2 separate regions of the Homo sapiens genome follow, and region 2 is linked to region 1. Evidence: promoter capture Hi-C in human tissues and cell types (Jung and others, 2019). All regions are on one chromosome and are shown on one strand. The core of a region is centred on a gene start or on the middle of the fragment in contact, and the rest is flanking DNA. Distances in the headings are between cores, read along the strand shown. Region 1 holds the start of NANOS1 (nanos C2HC-type zinc finger 1). Region 2 overlaps LINC03036 (long intergenic non-protein coding RNA 3036).

Region 1 (5,458 bases), core at 1,872-4,371:
CATACCACTCTGGGGGGCTGGCGTTCTCGTGGTAAAAGCTCCGAGTTCAGGGTCAGCAAACCTGCCAGGCGTCTGCAGGAGCCCTGCGGCATGGAGGTTCTTTTATTTATTTTTGGTGGAGAAGGGGAGGAAATAAAGGAATGACTTTCTACCTTGCATGCCAACACAAACTTGGAAAAGGATCTGGGTTGGCAAGTGCTGAATATTACTGCCTGGTTTCATGACTTACATCAACCATCGGGGGCTAGAAGGAAGAGGCCGAAACATGGATCTTTAACCCCTAACCCAGAGAGGCGGCCAGAACAGGCCTCACTTCACTGCTTCAGGTCCTTTCCCGCGCCTGCCAGCCAGAGCCCTGGATTGCTCTTTGAGGGCAGGGGCCCCAGCCAAGGCCATATCGCCTCACCTCACCTCACTTCTTTCCAGCTTCCCCTGTGTTGTGCCTTAGAGTTCTGCGGATGCATGCACAGACTTATTGTCTGAGATACCTTGCTGGTCCAGGGTGTAGTGAGAAGGCCACCCGGCCGGGAGTAACAGGACCAGAGTCTTAGTTCTGTCACATAGTCACTGTAGCCTTAAAGAAGTCCTGCTTGGCTGGGTGCGGTGGCTCACACCTATAATCCCAGCATTTTGGGAGGCCAAGGTAGGCAAATCACCTGAGGTCAGGAGTTTGAGACCAGCCAATACGGTGAAACCCCATCACTATTAAAAATACAAAAATTAGGTAGGCATGGTGGCACATGCCTCTAAACCCAGCTACTCAGGAGGCTGAGGCAGGAGAATCGCTTAAACTCAGGAGGCAGAGATTGCAGTGAGCCTAGATCGTGCCATCGCACTCCAGTCTGGGCGACAGAGTGAGACTCTGTCTCAAAAAAAAAAAAAGAAATCCTACTCTTCTCTAGGTCTCATTTTCTTCATCTGTAAGGATTGGACAGAACTGGGTGCAGTGGCTCACATTTGCAATCCCAGCACTTTGTGAGGCCAAGACAGGAGGATCACTTGAGGCCAGGAGTTCAAGACCAGCCTGGGCAACATAGCGAGACCCCCATCTATTAAAAAAGAAAAGAAAAAGGCAAGAAAAGATCGAACAGAATGATCCCAAAGATCCCTTCCCATGCTGACATTCTGATTCCCTCATTCATTCATTCTAATATTAACCAATGCCAGCACTAGGTTCTGGGCATCCCCTGCTGAGCCATTCTAAACCTGCTGGGCACAGCCAAGACCTGTGAGTGTGGCCTCAGGCCTAGTGAGGGCTCATTGTTTCCACAGCCACTGCATGGTCCAGAGTGAGGAAGGAAAGCCCCATCTGCCCCATGAAGCCCACCCTGCCAGGGCCCACCTGCCAGGGGAGGCATTTTCCTGATCCCAGTTCTAGGTTTCATCCTAGAAGAGCCCTCAGTATCTAAAGCCTTTCCTACTTTCAATTTTTAAAAAAGTTGGGAAGTGTAAGACCACCTGCCATCTTCCTAATCAAAACTCATCTTCTGGCTCTTATTCTCCATGGCTTTTACACAACATGTTTTATTCATTTCAAAGTATTTAATTATAATGTTGAGGCCAGGTGTGGTGGCTCATGTCTGTAATCCCAGCACTTTGGGAGGCCAAGGCAGGAAGATCGCTTGAGGCCAGGTGTTCAAGACCAGCCTAGGCAACATAGTGAGACCCTGTCTCAAGAAAAAAAAAAAAGAAAAAAGAAAAATCAAGAAGAAAAAAGAAAGAGTGAGAAAGAAAGAAAGAGGCCAGACGCGGTGGCTCACGCCTGTAACACCAACACTTTGGGAGGCCAAGGCAGGCGGATCGCGAGGTCTGGAGTTCAAGACAAGCCTGGCCAACATAGTGAAACCCCGTCTCTACTAAAATACAAAAAATTAGCCCGGCATGGTGGCGGGCATCTGTAATCCCAGCTGCTTGGAAGGCTGAGGCAGGAGAATTGCTTGAACCCGGGATGCGGAAAGAAAAGAAAAAAAAAGAAAGAAAAGGAAGGAGGGAAAGAAGGAAGGAAGGAAGGAAGGAAAGAAGGAAGGAAAGAAGGAAGGAAGGAAGGAAGGAAGGAAGGAAGGAAGGAAGGAAGGAAGGAAGGAAGGAAGACAAAATATAACATTGAATACACGTTGTTTTTCAAACTGCACATACAACCCACATTTTGACTCAGGCCTCTGGGGCGAGGGGGTACACACACACACACACATCCCAGTCACTGTCCTAGGCTCTCCAGCCATGAGATTTTCCGGCCCAGCCCCAACCCCGACCTAAGTAACCGGCTATCGGCCACCCATTGGCTGAAGTCCCTGAGCACCTGTTGGGAGGAAGGCTGCTGCGTGCAGCCGGAAAGTCCTGCGTCCCTCCGCTCTTACCGCGGCAGGAACCACAGCCTCCCCGAACCTCAGGGTTTGTATGGATTTCGCCCAGGGGAAAGCGCTCCAACGCGCGGTGCAAACGGAAGCCACTGGCTGGTTGGGCGGCTGTGATGGGAGAGCTGCATCCTTCCAACGCGTCCAGCTTTTCATGCTGATGTTGGTGAGAAGGGGGTGGATAGCGGGGATTCTCAGGATTAGGGCCTAGGGCCATTAAAGGCTGGGAGGTGGGGGCGTAAACCTGTGGCCACCCTGACCCCTGTCCTCGGGGGGCCTCACCACCAGGCCGAGGAGACCCAGGCCTGGTCACCTGCTCCAAGCCCAGGCCCGGCGCTCGAATGCGGGCCCCAGCGGCCCTCCCTTCCCGGCCCTTCTCTCCCCTACTTTCTCCTCACCTCCCAGCTGCGCGGAGAACACGCCCCCTCCCCGTGTTCCCACCAATCAGCGTCCGGAGCGGCGCCCGAGGCGCCGGGGGGCTCTGGTCTGCAGCCAATGAGCGCCACGGCTCGAGGCGGCGCCTCGCCCGCCCCCTCCCGGAATGAAGGCCGCCCGACAGCTGGCGAGGCTGGCGCAGCGCGCGGGGCGCGGGAGCCGCGCGGGCTGGAGCGGAGCGCGCACACAGCCAGCCCGCCTCCGCTCCGCCTCCGTCCGGGGCGCGGGCGAGGTGGCCGGGGCGGGGGAACGCAGGGGGCAGGGCCGCGGCGGCGAGGCCGGGGGGCGGGGAGGAGTGGGCCCGATAAAAGGCGGCGCGGCGGCCCCACCCCGCGGCAGGCCGGCGGGCAGGCTCGGCGTGTCCCTTCCGTCCGGCCCGCGCCGGCGGCGGGGAGGCGGCGCGCGGCCCGCAGCCCGCCCATGGAGGCTTTCCCCTGGGCGCCCCGCTCGCCCCGCCGCGGCCGCGCCCCCCCGCCCATGGCGCTCGTGCCCAGCGCCCGCTACGTGAGCGCCCCGGGCCCGGCGCACCCGCAGCCCTTCAGCTCCTGGAACGACTACCTGGGGCTCGCCACGCTCATCACCAAAGCGGTGGACGGCGAGCCGCGCTTCGGCTGCGCCCGCGGTGGGAACGGCGGCGGCGGCTCCCCGCCCTCCTCCTCCTCGTCGTCCTGCTGCTCCCCCCACACGGGGGCCGGGCCTGGGGCGCTGGGGCCGGCGCTGGGGCCGCCCGACTACGACGAGGACGACGACGACGACAGCGACGAGCCGGGGTCCCGGGGCCGCTACCTGGGGAGCGCGCTGGAATTGCGCGCGCTGGAGCTGTGCGCGGGCCCCGCCGAGGCCGGGCTGCTGGAGGAGCGCTTCGCCGAGCTGAGCCCGTTCGCGGGTCGTGCCGCCGCCGTGCTGCTGGGCTGCGCGCCCGCCGCCGCCGCCGCCGCCACCACCACCAGCGAGGCGACGCCGCGCGAGGAGCGGGCCCCGGCGTGGGCGGCCGAGCCCCGGCTGCACGCGGCCTCCGGGGCGGCGGCCGCCCGGCTGCTGAAGCCCGAGCTGCAGGTGTGCGTGTTCTGCCGGAACAACAAGGAGGCGATGGCGCTCTACACCACCCATATCCTCAAGGGCCCCGACGGGCGAGTGCTGTGTCCCGTGCTGCGCCGCTACACGTGTCCCCTGTGCGGCGCCAGCGGCGACAACGCGCACACCATCAAGTACTGCCCGCTCTCCAAAGTGCCGCCGCCGCCCGCCCGCCCGCCGCCCCGCAGCGCCAGGGACGGCCCGCCTGGCAAGAAGCTGCGCTGAAGGCCCGGGCTCCCGGCCGCCCAGGGTCGCCGCCGCCCCTCGCACCGCTAGGTCTGCGCACCATCTCGCCCCCGCCGTGGGGAGGCGTGCGGCTCAGCGGTCGGCTCGACATGGGACGTCGTCCTGGTGGTTTTTGAAAAGCAGCCGACCGTGTGGAGTACTTCCGTGCTGAACGATTGGGACTAGACGCTGAAATCCCCATTTGTCTTCAGTTTCTAGTTTGCACATCCAGAACGGCGAAGGCTGGGTGTGTATTCCACTAACTGAAATATGGCAACTTAGAGGCGCTGTTTATTTACTGTATACGTCGACCTATTTTAGATGCGCATCAGTATGAAATTGTCTCAATCTTGGATGTTTCATTTTATGAATGGAGGCACTTTACTAGGTCTAGAATATTTTTTTAAAAGCCTCTGAACTGAGCTTAAAACTGGCGATTTTATGAAATGTCGGCAAAATGACTATTTTATTGTTTGAAGCGAGTTAATATTCTCAGTTGTCTTTAAAAATCAGTTACTCTAATTCCAGGTGAAGCAAGCCGCTGGTAGCATCACCCTTATGAGAAGTGAAGGTTTTGTAAACTTTCCAGTATTAATTTGGGCGGGTATTCCCCGCTTGTGGCTTGTTTCTGTCCTAGCTGGAGGTGTAAAATGCACAATGTGTAGCAGGTAGAATACAGCTCCTTATCGTTCTATGTACCAGGTATTTTATTACTGAACTAGCAACTAGCCTTTTCCACCTTTAAAAGTTGTGCCAAGTCATAATCATATTGTGTATAACTTGGAAATGGTGCTGTTTAAAAAAATTGTGTATTTATACAGTAACAGTATGAATTCATTAATCTCACCTGTAACTTTCCTACTTGGCATTTTCTCTACACACTCACCCTCTTCCAGTTCTTTAAAAACGTTTATGATATTAAGATCAAAGGGAGGAAGGGAAGACAGCAGTATTAATTCACCCTAGATTACTCAATTTCAGGGTTCCTAGTGGAGGAAAGCCCATTCCAGCTGTTGCCTGTCAAACAAATAGAAGATGGATCTCTAGCTCTGAGCTATTCGTGTATTAACTCGTATTCAAGAAGGTTCCACCGTGGGCTGCGTCTGACTTTAATACAGGCAGTGCTCAAACTAGAATAAGCACTAATTAAAGGAATTGTTGGGGGTCCTTCATGTGTTCCCACTCCTACTGGAAGACCCATGTCGGTTTCCGGAACCCCACCAGTTTACCCATAAGCAAGACTAAACCTGATCCTTGGGCAAAAGTTCCTAACCCCTACTTTACCCTCCCACCCTCACTTTTAAATCCACCATACTGAATGCCACACTATGGAATGCAGCTACCTGCCAAGCAAGGCAATAGAAGGCAAA
Region 2 (5,527 bases), core at 715-3,214, 230 kb before region 1:
TGCCCAAAAGCCCATCACATGTACGGCCACTGTGGGTGCTTCCTTTTTCCGACATCTGACCCTTTATCCCATTTGGCTTACTCCAAAAGCTCAGCCCATGCTCCCAGGCATGGATAGGAAGGAACCCACTAAAAAAAAAAATGCACTATTCATTGAAAGTGCTAGAACCCGCCAGTCTCCAAATGCAGTCCTTTTGAAAAGGCATGACTCAGTCCTGAGTAACATCTGATACTTAACAAACGTCCATGAGCCATAACACCTCCTGGTGTCTGAGTGGTTTTCCCATCAACCTCTAAAATAAAAGCAAATCAGTTAGCCAGGTGCTGCATATGCTCAGAAGGCTATAGAAGCTCAGAGGTACAAGCACCTGGAGAAAATATATCAACCCTTCTGCATTATAACAACAATTATTGCAGAAATTCTTGTCATTGTCTATCAAAGTGAAATCAACGAACCCCCACAAGTTTCTGTACTGTTTGCTAGAAGTAAAGAGACAAATGAGACAAACAGCTCTTGCCCTCAGAGAGTTGACAATCTAGTAGAAGAAGGAAGAAGCCATCCAAATAACTAGGAAACAAGGTAAAGAGCAGCTTCTGCTCTAAAAAGGCAGTAGGATTGCTGAAGGAGGGGAATGTGAACCCTGGTCTTGCCCTTCAGGCAGTTTTTCATAGTTAATGATCCTGCATTCTCAAATTGCATAGGTATGTCTCAAATATGAGACAAGCCTTCTAATTTACAAGTAAGTGAACAGAAAAACTGTACACAGGCAGTCCTCTGCTTTTGTAAATATGAAAATATGTATCAAATTAACTGTATAGAGTGCAATTAGAGACTTACACATTATAAGTGGTTGTTCCATCCCAGGCAGCACTGTAGAGTTGGTAAGGCTGTACACTACACAAGGGCATCTGACCAAGGGTTAGACTGAAATCTAGATGTGTATCCTGATGTAGAGTTGTACTTATCCAGAAAAGAAAGGAATTCCTTTTCCCAATTTGCACAAGACACCATTTAGCTCGTAGTGGCCCTGATTCTGAGAGGTCCAAAATAGTTTTAAATTCCAGTTACATATTTATAGCATTTTCTTATATGTTGTTCTTTTCCTTTGCCATTAAGTCTACAGTGGACCCACTTAAGTCCAGTAAGCATTCAATTGAACTCAAAGATTGGCCACTGATCTCCATTTTGGAAGCAAGTGTATTAAGCATAGAAAACTTATATTGCTTATTTTTGAGATTACTCTTTTTTTCTACTTTCCACTTGTTTTTGTAAAACAACATGGACAAAGCACAGTAAAATGTTCAAATAGTTACGCATGTTCTGTTGAACAAAGAGAGCAACTGCCCACAGTGAATGGTTGGCTGGCAGGCAGCACCACCTGGGGGCAGCTCAAATTATTTTTCTCAGTAGTTAGTGTATGACAGTCCACATCTGTTATGTCCTGTAACAGAGCAATTAGGGGTGTCAGTGTTTAAAATGCTTATCTGGGCCAGGTGTGGTGGCTCACGCCTGTAATCCTAGCACTTTGAGAGGCTGAGGCGGGCAGATCACGAGGTCAGGAGTTTGAGACCAGCCTGCCCAACATGGTGAAGCACCATCTCTACTAAAATACAAAAATTAGCCGGGCGTGGTGGCGGGCATCTGTAATCCCAGCTACCTAGGAGGCTGAGGCAGGAGAATAGCTTGAACCCGGGAGGCAGAGATTGCAGTGAACCGAGATCATGCCATTGCACTCTATCCTGGACAACAGAACAAGACTTTGTCTCGGGAAAAAAAAATGCTTATCTGATTATCCCATTGAGGACAGCCTCTAACGCCATACCAAACATTAAGTGGGTAACCTCCTGCTTGATGCTGAGAATTCCTGGCAACTTCTCCCCAGTGCCTTTTTCCCTAATGCTTTATTCTCGGACTGGTCAGAGAGTCTTTGAACTCCCATAAACTCCTGTGTCATTCTTGTACACTTACCACATCTCTCTGCCTCTTTGGCATAGTCTGGGAGCAGCCAGGAATCACCTCTCGGCTCCACCTCCATAGCAACTGCCCTCTCAGAGGATCCACCTCCTCAGAGGGACTAGGAGCTCCTAGGTCAGGAAATGGCAGTGGCTGATGTAGCCTGATCTCCACCAGAAGTGGACGCTCCTCTTTGTTGCTGCCTGGTGAAGCGGGGGACTTATTTACTTTCACTGAAGATCTCCTTTAATTTTTTCTTTCCTCCTTCACTTTTCCTAATTTGGTTTTTCATTCATAGATGCATGCCTTTTTTTTTTTTTGAGACGGAGTCTCACTCTGTTGCCAGGCTGGAGTGTGGTGGCACGATCTCGGCTCACTGCAACCTCTGCCTCCTGGGTGCAAGAGATTCTCCTGTCTCAGCTTCCTGAGTAGCTGGGACTACAGGCGTGCACCACCACGCCCAGCTAATTTTTGTATTTTTAGTACAGACAGGGTTTCACCATGTTGGCCAGGCTGGTCTCGATCTCTTGACCTTGTGATCTGCCCACTTCAGCCTCCCAAAGTGCTGTGATTACAGGCGTGAGCCACCCCCCCCCCAGCCAGATGCATGCCTTTATTCCACATCTACCAAGTGACTCCTCGCATGAGGCCCTGTGCACTGGGCACTGCGCTGATAGGCAGGGCGTGGCGCTGACACCCTATGGCGGGGAAGGTAGACAGCAAACAAAACAAACAAACAGATGTGAATAAGGACAGAATGATGCTGTGAAGGACTTGGCCGAGTGTCCTTTGGAAGAGTGGGGAGGAGGACAGAGGGAGGAAAGGCCTCTCTGAGACCTGAAGGTAAGAAGGAGCTGGCCGTGTGGAAGGCAGAAAAGAGGGGTCCAGGAAGAGGCAGAGCATGGGTCATGAGCCCTTAGCAAGGCCTGGAAGAAAGTCCAGACATGTCTGGAGCATGGTGGGGGAAGGGAAAAGGGCGTGGTGGGGTGGCTGACAGGGGCCGCTCACGCAGGCACAGCCTGTGTCCTAGGGGCCCCTAATCCTTGTGGGGCCTGCAGGAGCCTCTGACTCTGGACCTGCTTGCCTTACATCACTTGGTCTGGTCTTGCCGCTCTCAGATACACATAGCCCTTCCACCAAAATTGTATACGTTGATTCAAATGAACATCTATTCCTCTTTGCTTTTTTAAAATTTTATTATTTTGTGTAGAGATGGGGATCTCACTATATTGCTCAGACTAGTCTCGAACTCCTGGGCTCAAGCAATCCTCCCACCTCGGCCTCTCAAAGTGCTAGAATTACAGGCCTGAGCCACCATGCTGGGCCTTCTTCATCTTTTCTACATAGAGATTAAGAGGGTACAAAAATTTGAATAAATTCCACCAGATCAACTTGATTGGTTCACCTTTAAAGAACACTTGAACTCAGGCTACTTTTGAACTGATTTACTGATAAGCATCTTGGGTGCCAAACAATAGGCTTGCCTGATGCTTCAACTTTCACTTGGGAGCTTGGCAGCCCGAAGACCTGACCAGAGACAGAACCTGAGGCAGGACAGAGGAAAGGAGAGGGAGCCGAGGAGGACAGCTCCCCAGAGCACAAAGGGCACACCCTGAACAAAGGGCAAAGGTGTCTCAGGTACTGGTGCCTGCTGGGAAACCAGCCGTGCCCTTCTACCCAGCTGGTGGGAAAGTAGCAGGTACAGTCTTTCTAGCAATTCTGCTGACTTTTTTTTTTTTTTTTTTTTTTTTTTGAGACGGAGTCTTGCTCTGTCTCCCAGGCTGCAGTGCAGTGGCACAGTCTTGACTCACTGCAACCTCTGACTCCCAGGTTGAAGCGATTCTCCTGCTTCAGCCTCCTGAGTAGCTGGAACTACAGGTGCCCGCCATCATGCCTAGCTAATTTTTGCATTTTTAGTAGAGTCGGAGTTTTATCATCTTGGCCAGGCTGGTCTCAAACTCCTGACCTCAAGTGATCCTCCCGCCTTGGCCTCCCAAAGTGCTGGGATTACAGGTGTGAGCCACCGCGCCGGGCCTCAGCTGACATTTCTAATGCAGGTTTCCTTTAATTCTGCGGTTCTACCACTAGGTGCCCCCTAATGGATACATGGACAAAAAAACATCGAGCTGTGCACACGTGACGGTCACTCCAAAAGTTGGAGGCCACCCAAATGACTCTCAGTTTGTCAAAGCAGGCCAAATCAATTTCAGCCCATCCATACAACAGAATAGTCTGCAGTGATTAGACATAAGGAGGCAAAGTTCTAGACTCAGAGTAAAAGACCCTGAAGATATATCATTAAATAAATGGGGGAAAGGCCAGATATGGAATAGTGTACGTATACCTTGCTCCCCTATGTAACTGTTTAAAATGATATATATTTATATGTAGATACATGCATACTTTTTTCTGGTGGGATACATAGGAAACTTTGGGGATGAGGATTGGGGTCAGAGAAAAGCAGGGAGATTTTAATCATTTTTCTAGATCTTTCTGTACTGGTCAAGTTTTTATATCATGCGCAGTTATTGCTTTTATTTAAAGAGTAATAGGAAGAAAGGAAGAAAAGACAAGACACCAGCCTCTATATTGGTAGAAACCAATTCAGTCCTCCCTTAAGCCCTGCCTGCCAGTGGCCGATGTCACCATGGAGAAGGTTACTCGGGAGCCTTCCTTACTCTAAACTCACTGCTCACTTGCTGGGGGAGTTGTGGGACTGGGAAGTTTCTCTGCAGGAGAAAGTGTCTTTATGCCAGAATTAGGCACAAAGGGCATTAGGACACTTGGCTGTCTGTGTCTGTGTGACTCAGGACACATAAGCTACAGACTCTTTTCACTGGAAGTTTTCAGCTCAATCTGGCAACCCATCTATTGAACACCTACTATGTGTCAGCACTCTGCCAGGCCTATGGAATGAGCAGACACAAAGGCAATTTAACCCTTGCCCCCAGGAACAAGATAAACAAATGACGCTGGAAACTGCAGATGAGGGAGAAGTGCTATAAGAGATGGGGACAAAGTGGAGGAAGGGAGAGATTCCCTATGGCCAGAGGGACCAGGAAGGCTTCCTGGAGGAGGTGGGAGTTGATATGGAGCAGTCCCACGCCAAGAGAACAGCTTGAGCAAAGATTGGGAAGCAAAAGAGAACTTGTGCAGGGAAGGAGGAGAGGCTGGAACCCAGAATGCTGGGCTGGGGAGGGAGAGGTGGGCAGGGGAGACGAAAGGTTAGCTCTGCCGAAAGCAAGAACCTGAAGGAAGACAGGAGCTGGGCCAGAGAGGGCTGAGTGCCCCGCAAGAGGTTTGCACTTAATTCTGTGAACACTGAAAGGTTTTGATTTGGGAGTAAGAGGGTCAGAGCTGTGTCTGAGGCTCATGTTGATGACTGTCTGGTTTGTAAAAGTCAGTGTCGCCTCGTGAAAACATGGAAGTGCCTACGGAGTAGATGCTGGTATGAAGGGCAGGGAAGAGCACTGTGAGCAAAGTCTTTGAGACCAACCTTGCAGACAGCGGGGACAGCAGGCTGGGCTCTGGGGAATGGGTCCGCTGGGGTCTGTCAGGATCTGCCCAGGTCTGC

The links. The method cuts DNA at HindIII sites, captures the fragments that hold promoters and counts their contacts. A contact is called where the count stands out against the background at its distance.
Region 2: a fragment that was not itself captured here is called in contact with the fragment with the promoter of NANOS1 in region 1 in 1 of the 25 tissues and cell types used here (H1 embryonic stem cells).

What each region holds. Positions count from the first base shown.
Region 1 is chr10:119,026,593-119,032,050 of GRCh38, forward strand. It overlaps NANOS1 (nanos C2HC-type zinc finger 1), which reads left to right and starts at 3,122. Exons shown (of 1, transcript NM_199461.4): 1 at 3,122-5,458. The coding sequence starts at 3,210. The coding sequence ends at 4,088. It overlaps LINC03036 (long intergenic non-protein coding RNA 3036), which reads right to left and starts at 2,979. Exons shown (of 4, transcript NR_186540.1): 1 at 2,753-2,979. RefSeq lists an enhancer at 2,399-2,899 and silencers at 2,724-3,193, 3,314-3,523, 3,894-4,193. The HindIII fragment of the contact is 19,263 bases long and covers 1-5,458 here.
Region 2 is chr10:118,799,745-118,805,271 of GRCh38, forward strand. All of the region lies in intron 3 of LINC03036 (long intergenic non-protein coding RNA 3036), which reads right to left. Among named protein-coding and RNA genes, the nearest start is that of CACUL1, 48 kb to the left of the region's middle. The HindIII fragment of the contact is 5,883 bases long and covers 1-4,906 here.